3 separate regions of the Homo sapiens genome follow, and regions 2 and 3 are each linked to region 1. Evidence: promoter capture Hi-C in 16 types of primary human blood cells and fetal thymus (Javierre and others, 2016). All regions are on one chromosome and are shown on one strand. Each heading gives the region's core, a stretch centred on a gene start or on the middle of the fragment in contact. The rest is flanking DNA. Distances are from core to core; before and after follow the strand shown.

Region 1 (2,965 bases), core at 343-2,842:
TGCCTGGCTCTTGGTGCTGGGTTCTTACTTCCTCAAGTCTCTGCTCCATCAAAAACACTGGGGAAGCTCAAGGCATTCAGCTCTAGCGGTGGAAGGTCAGAAGATGGGACAGGTGGGCAAGGAGAGCTTTGGAGTGGGGTGGGAGCTTTTCTGGGGCCTCTCTCACCTCCAGGCCCAGGTCCCAGTGGGCAACCAGCTAGCCCGGAGAGGTCTGGGGAGACAGACAGACAGCTGGTGTCCTTCCTGGCTCCTCCGCAGGTTATAGATGTTTCTAGGAGCTCCCTCCAGAGCAGGGCCCAGGAAGTGCTGGGCCCAGGCTGACCCAACCCCGCTTGGCTGGGGCTAGCATCTCTCACTGAGCCCCTTCTCCCCAGACCCTGAGACAAGGCTGCGATTAATCAGTAACAAAAACAGAAACAAGCAGAAAAGTGTAATCAGCTTGGGAAGGGCAGGGCAGGACCGGGCAGGGCTGTGCAATCAGCGTTCCTGCTGGGACCTTTAGCTGATTGGGCCAAAGGGGGCAGGGAGGTGGTCCCAGTAGGGGGATTCAGGGAAGCACCCAGAGATGGGGCCACAGCCAGGCCAGAAGGTCACCCCCTCCCATGCACATCTGTGCACCATATGCCCACACCACTCCCAGCCCCAGGGCCTGCACACCTCCCCCGACCTGCCAGCGTACAACCTTGGCACACACAGGTGGCCACACACTCCCGACATTTGTCCATCTGCATATGGAGTCACAGACACCTGCGCACGTGCCCAGTGGCACATACACACCCTCATGGATAGCAGACATATGCACACGCAGGCTGCTCCCTCAAACACCTGCCCCCACCCCAGCTCTGGGGTGCCGACGTGCCCTGGGGCCTGGGGAAGCCCTGCACATACATTAGGTCTGAGCTGCAGCCATGTGAACTGGCAGGCCCTCACACCAGACCCCACAGGCACCGGGCCATGTCTCTGTCCCGAACTGCCCTGGGGGCCATGAGACACTTTGGCTCCTCTTCTGCAAGCTGAAAGGTAGGGGCTTGGGAAGGGTCCGGGACTGGGGCCCCATTGTGGGGAGCAAGGTCAGCGGCAGGGTGTCAGTCACAGGCAGGGCAGGAAGCCTACCCCAGACGTGTACCCAGCTCTTACCTGCTGCTCCTGCCCTGTGACCTTGGTCAACGTCCTTCTCTCTCAGCCTCAGTTTCCCCACCTTGGATCCTCCTGGCACGGAAACGGTGACTCTTCTTGAGGACCCAGGTGCTTGGGGCCAGTCTCACCTCTCTGGGTCTACAGTTCTTAGTTCCGGGCTCTCCGCTCCTGGTGCGTGGATGGGGGAAGGTGAGCCAAGGGGCAGGAAGGAGGACCCCCGCAACCCACCCCCTCCCTGGTCCTGGTGGCTGCAGACTTAGGGTGAGGAGAGCCAGTGAACAGAGGGGAGCCCTAGTGGGAAAGGGGAATCGGGGCCGAAGGGGAGAAGGAGCCCCGGGCAGGTTTGGGGCGGCCGCTCAGGGGCCGGCGGCGGGAAGGGGCGGGCTGGGGGTGGGGAGCGCGGAGGGGGCGGGCGGGCGGCTGGCGGGGGAGGCGGGGAGCGCAGCCAGCGCGGCACAGAACGAGCGAGCGAGCGAGCGGAGAGGCGGCTACAGCCTGAGCGCCGGGCCGGTAGCGGCCGCGCCGGCGAGCGGACTAGCGGGCGGCGAGCAGCGCGGAGCGCGCGGGGCACCGAGGAGCGGGCGCGGCGGGCACCGCGCGAGGCAGCCGGAGCTCTCGGAAAGGCCAGAGCGGCGCCGCCCCCGCTGCCCCTGCGGGGCCCCGGCTGGGAGCCCGACGAGGGAGCGGGCGGCATGGCCCGGCGGCCCGGGGCGCGGGGGCGCTAGGCCCCCGGAGGGGCGTCCCCAGCCTCGCCGCTGCCGCCGCCGCCCTCCGCAGCCGCGCGCCCCGCCCGCTCCAGCCGCCCCCGGGGCCGCCACCGGCCCATGAGCCCCGGCCTCAAAGTTTGCGGCGGGCGGGCGGGCGCGGAGCCTCCAAGATGCCGTTCCACCCGGTGACGGCGGCGTTGATGTACCGGGGCATCTACACCGTGCCCAACCTGCTGTCGGAGCAGCGCCCGGTGGACATCCCGGAGGACGAGCTGGAGGGTGAGTGTCCGCCGGGATCCCCGCCCCGGCGGCCCTCCTACCTGTGCGCCCAGGTGAAGCGCGGGCCAGGGGCGCGGGGGCGGGGGGCGGGGGGCGGTCCGCAGGTGCCGGTTGCCAGGTGGGCGCCCCAGCTAGCAGCTGTGCCCCGCGGCAAGACCTGTCCGCACCCCGGGGCGCCGCGGTGGGGGTCGCTCAGGCGGAGAGCGGCCCAGCCCCTGCCCGCGTGGTCCCCAGCGCTGCGGAAACTTGCCGGGCCCCGCAGCGGGGTCACGGGGCCGCGCAGTCGGCGGTGACGGTGCGGCAACGCGGCGGACTGGGGCGGGGGTCCGCGCTGAGCCCCCAGCGCCGGCCCGGCCGGAGCACCCGCATCCTGATCCCCTCCGCGGCGCCCGCCCGCGGCTCTCTGCTCGCATTGACATTCCGCTCGTGTCGCTTTAAAAATTCAATCTGCTCGGGCAGCAGCAGAAGGGGAGAGGGCGACTGCCCTGCTCTTGCCCGCTGCGGGGCCGCCCCCGTCCCCACCTGCGGCCGTAGCCCCTTCCCTGCAGCCCTGCGGGGACCCCCAGCCCGGCGCGCCGGGAAGGCGGCCCGGGAGGCGGTGGCGACAACAAGTGGCCGGACTGGGCGGCTAAGTCGCGATAGCCAAGCCTGGAAGGGAAAGGCAGAGAGGCCAGGACCCAAACCCGCCCCCACCCCGTTCCCCCTGCCTCTCAGACTCGCAGGGGGATGGCAGGCCGCTGGCTGGGCGAGGTCAGAGCAGAGGGCAGGGGCAGGGGTCCGGGACAGTGTGTCCTGAGGAGCAGTGAGACCCCTGGGGCCCGCCCAGCTCCTTCCCTGCTGGG
Region 2 (2,965 bases), core at 201-2,700, 300 kb after region 1:
CTTTACCTCAAAGCCATTGCACCTGTGGTTGCCTCTGCCTGGAGTGCTTCCCCTCAGATACCCACATGCCTGCTCTTTCAAGTCCACTGGGTCCCAGCCAGTGAGGCCATCCTGCACTGCCTCATATGTGTCCTGTCCATCTCAGTCTGCCTTGTTCTCCATAGCACTGGTCACTCTTCAGCTATGACTAGAGCAAGCTCCATCAGGGCAGAAGAATTTGCTGGTCATTGCTACATGCCCAGCACCTTAGTCATGTTTGGGCCATGTGAAATGCTCAATAATTTGTAGAATGAACAAGTAGTTTTACAAACATACTGTCAGCTCAGACTTGAGTTGTACACTGACGTGCTCCTGCACCCAGTTCATATGCTGTGGCGCTTGTGAGAGTGGCTGTTAATTCACAATCTCAGACTATTTATCACGGAAGCTAAGAGGAATAGGGGCACCAACAACCTGTCTGACTCAGGTTGTTGGGTCCTGGAATTGGTGGTGTGAGGAGGAGGAGGCTACTGCATGGCTTACTGGGTTCCCCGTCCTGACAGAGTAAATTGAAGTGTTCTCAGGGATGTTAGGATAAGGTGGCTCAGCTGAGCTGACTTATCAGAGTGTGCATGCCTGATTGCTTAATTTGTGCTTCATTGGACTTCCATAGGTGAAACTGGTGCAGCATACCTATTCCTGCCTGTTTGGAACATTCCTGTGCAACAACGCCAAGGAGAGAGGGGAAAAGCATACTCAGGAACGGACATGTTCCGTGTGGTCACTTCTTCGGGCAGGCAACAAGGCTTTCAAAAACCTACTGTATTCCTCTCAGTCAGAAGCCGTATGTATCCTTCAGCCTTTCCACTGTGGTCAGCAGAAGGAATTTGGGGTTGGTTACATATGAGAGCCTTTTTGAGTAGTGACTGTTTTTGTGAAGACATCTCTACTGTCTCTGGATGGACTGGTTCCATTTTTCCCCCATGATTCTGTCCTGAGGAAGGCCTGCTTCTGATGGTGCTCTGATCTGTTTCTGATGACTACTTGCTGAGGGTGGTTTGGTTTAACACAGATCTCTACTTTGCCACCCTAGACATGAATCTTTTTTGGCACTGCCTCCAGAGCTTATTTCTAGCATATTCTGTCTTACGGGAGAGGCACTTAAGTTGCTTCCTGATGCACTGATAGCTCAGAATGAGCTGCCACCAGGCCCCCAGCACCCTCCCAGTGTCAATAAGCAATGATACCCACCAAAGCTTCTGTCTCAGAACAGTAAACTGTGTTTGACATTGGTATGTGTGTCTGTCTGATTCTCTGCTCACATGAAGAGCTGGCAGGCCCTTTAAGACTTTGTTCCCCGAAGGAATGAATACCTTCTGTTAAGCAGAGAAAAGGAGGCACATAGACCTATGTGTCAGTTTCATAGTAATACTAGCTTTGTCAGAATGCATCTTAGACCCTAAAGAAGTCAAAAGGAGGCTAATCAGAGTTCATACTGATTTCCTGGACTATTAATATGGTTCTCATTACATTTAAGTAATCACAGAAAAGATTTAAGCTGACTGCTTGTCTCTCCCCTTCAGTGTGCCTTCTGGGGAAGTAACAATACAGCAGGAAAATTTCCTTCTTTTCACATGATTAATTTAAATGATCCCATAAAATGGGTTTGACAGTGTTTCTTGAAGCCAAGCTTTTGTGCCAGCAGGATGGACAATCACCATCTAACAGAATGACTCACTTTCTTAGGCAGTAAAAGCAACAAATCAAGCTGATGAAAGTCAGACATTGAAGGTGACCTAAGAAATAACTATAATGAGAAAGGGATCTAAAAAATATTTTATATTTTCATGCTCTCAAGTGGCTCTTAGGTGAAAAATGTTGGCTATATAAAATGTCTAGTCCTGTATTGGTCCTCTTGGGATAGACCTGTATCCATTGGTGCTGCTTCTTTGTGGAGATCCTGTCAGCCCTGTTGGGTATTCCAGCTGGGTGCTTGCTCTTGATCCTCATTTCCAGACATCCTAGAAGACTTATTGGGGCATATTTAAACCTGTGTCCTCCCCCCTCCTCAGGTGCTGTACCCTGTGTGCCATGTGCGTAACCTGATGCTGTGGAGTGCAGTGTACCTGCCCTGCCCATCCCCAACCACCCCTGTGGACGACAGCTGTGCACCATACCCAGCCCCAGGCACCAGCCCTGATGATCCCCCCCTGAGCCGGTGAGCCCAGGGTGATGCCACAGGCCTGACAGCCTGTGTGGGTGTATTCCTGTGTTGGGACGTGTGCAGGGATGGTCAGAGATCATGATGGTATCTGGCTCCACAGTATCTTTCTTAGGTCTCTGCAGTTTTTTCAGGGAAGTTATAGGGATTTCTGAGCTACGAGGCTGTAAGATCCTTGTTTCTGGGAGTGAGTTAGGCCCTGTTGCTTCATGTTGTTTTGCATACACTGAGCCGCTCCTCAGTGATAGAGCAAATCCTCCAGTTTTTCTGTGACCCCCTGGTTTGTGTTTTCCCCAGTGCTCTGTGCTCCTGCCTATTTGCCATGATTTGTCTTCTGAGGCTTAAAAGGCAGATGCTGTCAGATGACAGAAAATTTTGCTTTGGGGCCAGGCTTGGTGGCTCATGCCTGTAATCCCAGCACTTTGGGAGGCCAAGGTGGGAGGATCGCTTGAGCCCAGGAGTTCCAGACCAGCCTGGGCAATGTGTTGAAACTCTGTTTCTACCCAAAATGCAAAAACTAACCAAGCGTGGTGGCACATACCTGTAGTCCCAGCTACTTGGGAGGTTGAGGCAGGAGGATCACTTGAGCCTGGAAGGTGGAGGTTGCAGTGATCCAAGATCCATTGCACTCCAGCCTGGATGACAGGGCAAGACCTGTCTCAGGAAAAAAAAAAAAGAAAAGAAAATTTGGCTTTGTCACTTGAGAATTAGCTTTATTAAATTCAGACTGATAGATAATACATTAATTTAAAATACTGTAATATC
Region 3 (2,965 bases), core at 273-2,772, 280 kb after region 1:
TTGATCAGAATTAATTTCTTTCCTCTTTATAATCTTAACCTGACAGGGATCTTTCTAAACTAAAACTATATAATATATGTTACTTTATTATTTATACAATTCTTACCTTTAAAAATACACAGGCTGGGCGCAGTGGCTCACGCCTGTAATCCCAGCACTTTGGGAGGCCGAGGCGGGCAGATCACATGAGGCCAGGAGTTCGAGACCAGCCTGGCCCATGTGGTAAAACCCCATCTCTACTGAAAGTGCAAAAATTAGCCAGTCATGGTGGCATGCACCTGTAATCCCAGCTATTTGGGTGGCTGAGGCACAAGAATCACTTGAACCTGGGAGGCGGAAGTTTCAGTGAGCTGAGATCACACCACTGCACTCCGGCCTATGTGACAGAGTGGAATCCTGTCTCAAAAAATATATATATATTTACATATATGTAACATATGTATATTTCTTTGTTTTTATTCCACCTGTTTTGCAAAATGGTATTCATTTCTTCCTTTCTGCTGTTTATCTTTGGCCTCTAGGGGAGCATGTAACTTCAAGGTTTAAAAACGAGGTGGAGAGGATGGGTTTTGATATGAACAACGCCTGGAGGATTTCCAACATCAATGAGAAGTACAAGTGAGTTATATGGGTCCCTGTGGACTGTTTCACAGCCAGTGCCTTTGCAGAAACCGCAATTCTCATGTGGCAGAACATTTGAACTTAGACTTTTTATTTGAAATGGTTTTATTTATTAAATCTAAAGGCATGATCTTCAGAGTATTTATTGAATCTTCTGTTCCCGTTGCTATCATTGGAGTGGAAAGTGATCCTTACTTAACAGGATCCTAGAACCTTCCCTTTTACCCCCTCTAGGCCTCTGTTTTTTCTGGTACATGCATGTCTAAATAATATTGTATTTGCCTGTAGGCAGGCAGTTACCATTTTTCTCATCACCACTTGGCATCACATTAGAGAGAGGATCAGTGGTCTCATAAGCAGTGACAGAACATTTATGAACTAGTTTTTATGACTGTAATTTTACTCCAGGTGGTGTGAAATAGACATAAGTACAGTTGAGTATCCCTTATCTGAAATTCTTGGGACTGTAAATATTTCAGATTTTGGATTTTTTTCAGGTTTTGGAATATTTGCATGAACATAATGAGATTATCTTGGGCCTGGGACCCAAGTCTAAACACAAAATTATTTGTCTCATATACACATTATACAGCTGGAAGGTAATTTTGTACAATATTTTAAATAATTTCATGCATGATGTTTTTTACGAAAAGTTTTGACTGTGACTTGACTGTGACCCATCACATGAGGTCAAGTGTAGAATTTTCCACTTGTGGCATTATGTCAGCACTCAAAGTTTTGGATTTTGGAGCATTTCAGATTTTTGGATTAAAGATGCTCAGTCTGTATTATTCTGTCCTTTAATATATTGATCTAAAACCAACTTCACTGCTATGATCATTTAACCATTAAATATTAATGTAACCTTTATTTGGCTGGACATGGTGGCTCACACCTGCAATCCCAGCACTTTGGGAGGCCAAGGCAGATCAGCTGAGGTCAGGAGTTCGAGACCAGCCCAGCCAACATGGCGAAACACTGTCTCTACTAAAAATACAAAAATTAGCTGGGCGTGGTGGTGCATGCCTGTAGTCCCAGCAACTTGGGAGGCTGAGGCAGGAGAATTGCTTGAACCTGGGAGGTGGAGGTTGTAGTGAGCTGAGATTGCACCACTATATTCCAACCTGGGTGATAGAGTGAGACTCTGTCGCAAAAAAAAAATTAATGTAACCATTTAGCCATTACCCAGTTCCTTAAAATGTGTAAGTGCGTTGGTGGGGGAGGACAGTTAACTACTATGATTTTGGTGATCCAAATTTCTATAAAACAAAATTGTCCATGATAGTTAAATATCTTAAATCTTTAACTATATCCTTCTTGGCCAGGCGCGGTGGCTCACGCCTGTAATCCCAGCACTTTGGGAGGCTGAGGCAGGAGGATCATGAGGTCAGGAGATCGAGACCATCCTGGCTAACACGGTGAAACCCCGTCTCTACTAAAAATACAAAAAATTACCCGGGCATGGTTGCAGGTGGCTGTAGTCCCAGCTACTGGGGAGGCTGAGGCGGGAGAATGGCATGAACCTGGGAAGCGGAGCTTGCAGTGAGCTGAGATTGTGCCACTGCACTCCAGCCTGGGCAACCGAGCGAGACTTTGTCTTAAAAAATAAAAAAAATAAAAAAAAAAAATATATATATCCTTCTCCTACGTTTCCCTGCATCATTAATCATTCTGCGGTCCTCTTAGCTGTCTCAAATTATGACGGGCATTTTCCTGGTCTGTTTGTGGCTAGCCGTCAGAGTTTTCACTGGAAAAGCTATAGCTAATTGCTATACACAGTTCTTAATGTGGACCTTCTCCAGGGAGTTGAGAACCCAGGGTGTTTTGAAGAGTTGGAGCTGCAGACTTTTTATACTTTTGCCTGTTCTCAGTGATGAGTCAAAGCAAAGAAGGAGGGTGAATGCTGGATGAGGGGGCGGCCTCAGAGAGCCTGTGGCTGCATTAGGCTTTCCTGAGTGTAACCTATACTGGAAATTGTTTATCCACAAGTGAGTAGGTAGTGCATACTGAAGAGCTGACTACTGGGAGTGTAGTACCTATAGGACAATGAACAGAATGTTTAGAAAATTAGATCAAGTAAAAAAAAACTGTGAATTAAGACAGACTTGTTGGAAAATAATCCCCAATTCGGCTTTTAAAAATTAACTTCTTGAGAGGCCAAGATAGAGGATTGATTAAGCCCAGGAGTTTGAGACTAGGCTGGGCAACATAGTGAGACCTCATCTCTACAGAAAATTTCTTAAAAATTTGGCCAGGCATGGTGGCTCATTCCTCTAATCCCAGCACTTTGGGAGGCCGAGGCGGGTGGATCACGAGCTCAGGAGATCGAGACCATCCTGGCTAA

Evidence for each region. The method cuts DNA at HindIII sites, captures the fragments that hold promoters and counts their contacts. A CHiCAGO score of 5 or more calls a contact.
Region 2: a contact is called between a fragment that was not itself captured here and the fragment with the promoter of CABP7 in region 1, in 1 of 17 cell types (erythroblasts). The highest score is 6.0, in erythroblasts.
Region 3: a fragment that was not itself captured here is called in contact with the fragment with the promoter of CABP7 in region 1 in 3 of 17 cell types (M0 macrophages, erythroblasts and neutrophils); the score reaches 7.4 in M0 macrophages.

What each region holds. Positions count from the first base shown.
Region 1 is chr22:29,718,411-29,721,375 of GRCh38, forward strand. It overlaps CABP7 (calcium binding protein 7), which reads left to right and starts at 1,593. Exons shown (of 5, transcript NM_182527.3): 1 at 1,593-2,123. The coding sequence starts at 2,015. CABP7-DT (CABP7 divergent transcript) reads right to left here and starts at 1,493. Exons shown (of 3, transcript NR_186695.1): 1 at 1,138-1,493. RefSeq lists an enhancer at 2,902-2,965. The HindIII fragment of the contact is 23,163 bases long and covers 1-2,965 here.
Region 2 is chr22:30,015,876-30,018,840 of GRCh38, forward strand. MTMR3 (myotubularin related protein 3) reads left to right here. Exons shown (of 20, transcript NM_021090.4): 15 at 653-823; 16 at 2,052-2,197. HORMAD2-AS1 (HORMAD2 and MTMR3 antisense RNA 1) reads right to left here. Exons shown (of 5, transcript NR_110541.2): 4 at 2,742-2,854. Among named protein-coding and RNA genes, the nearest start is that of MIR6818, 10 kb to the left of the region's middle. The HindIII fragment of the contact is 434 bases long and covers 1,234-1,667 here.
Region 3 is chr22:29,998,240-30,001,204 of GRCh38, forward strand. It overlaps MTMR3 (myotubularin related protein 3), which reads left to right. Exons shown (of 20, transcript NM_021090.4): 8 at 522-618. Among named protein-coding and RNA genes, the nearest start is that of MIR6818, 7.3 kb to the right of the region's middle. The HindIII fragment of the contact is 4,824 bases long and covers 1-2,965 here.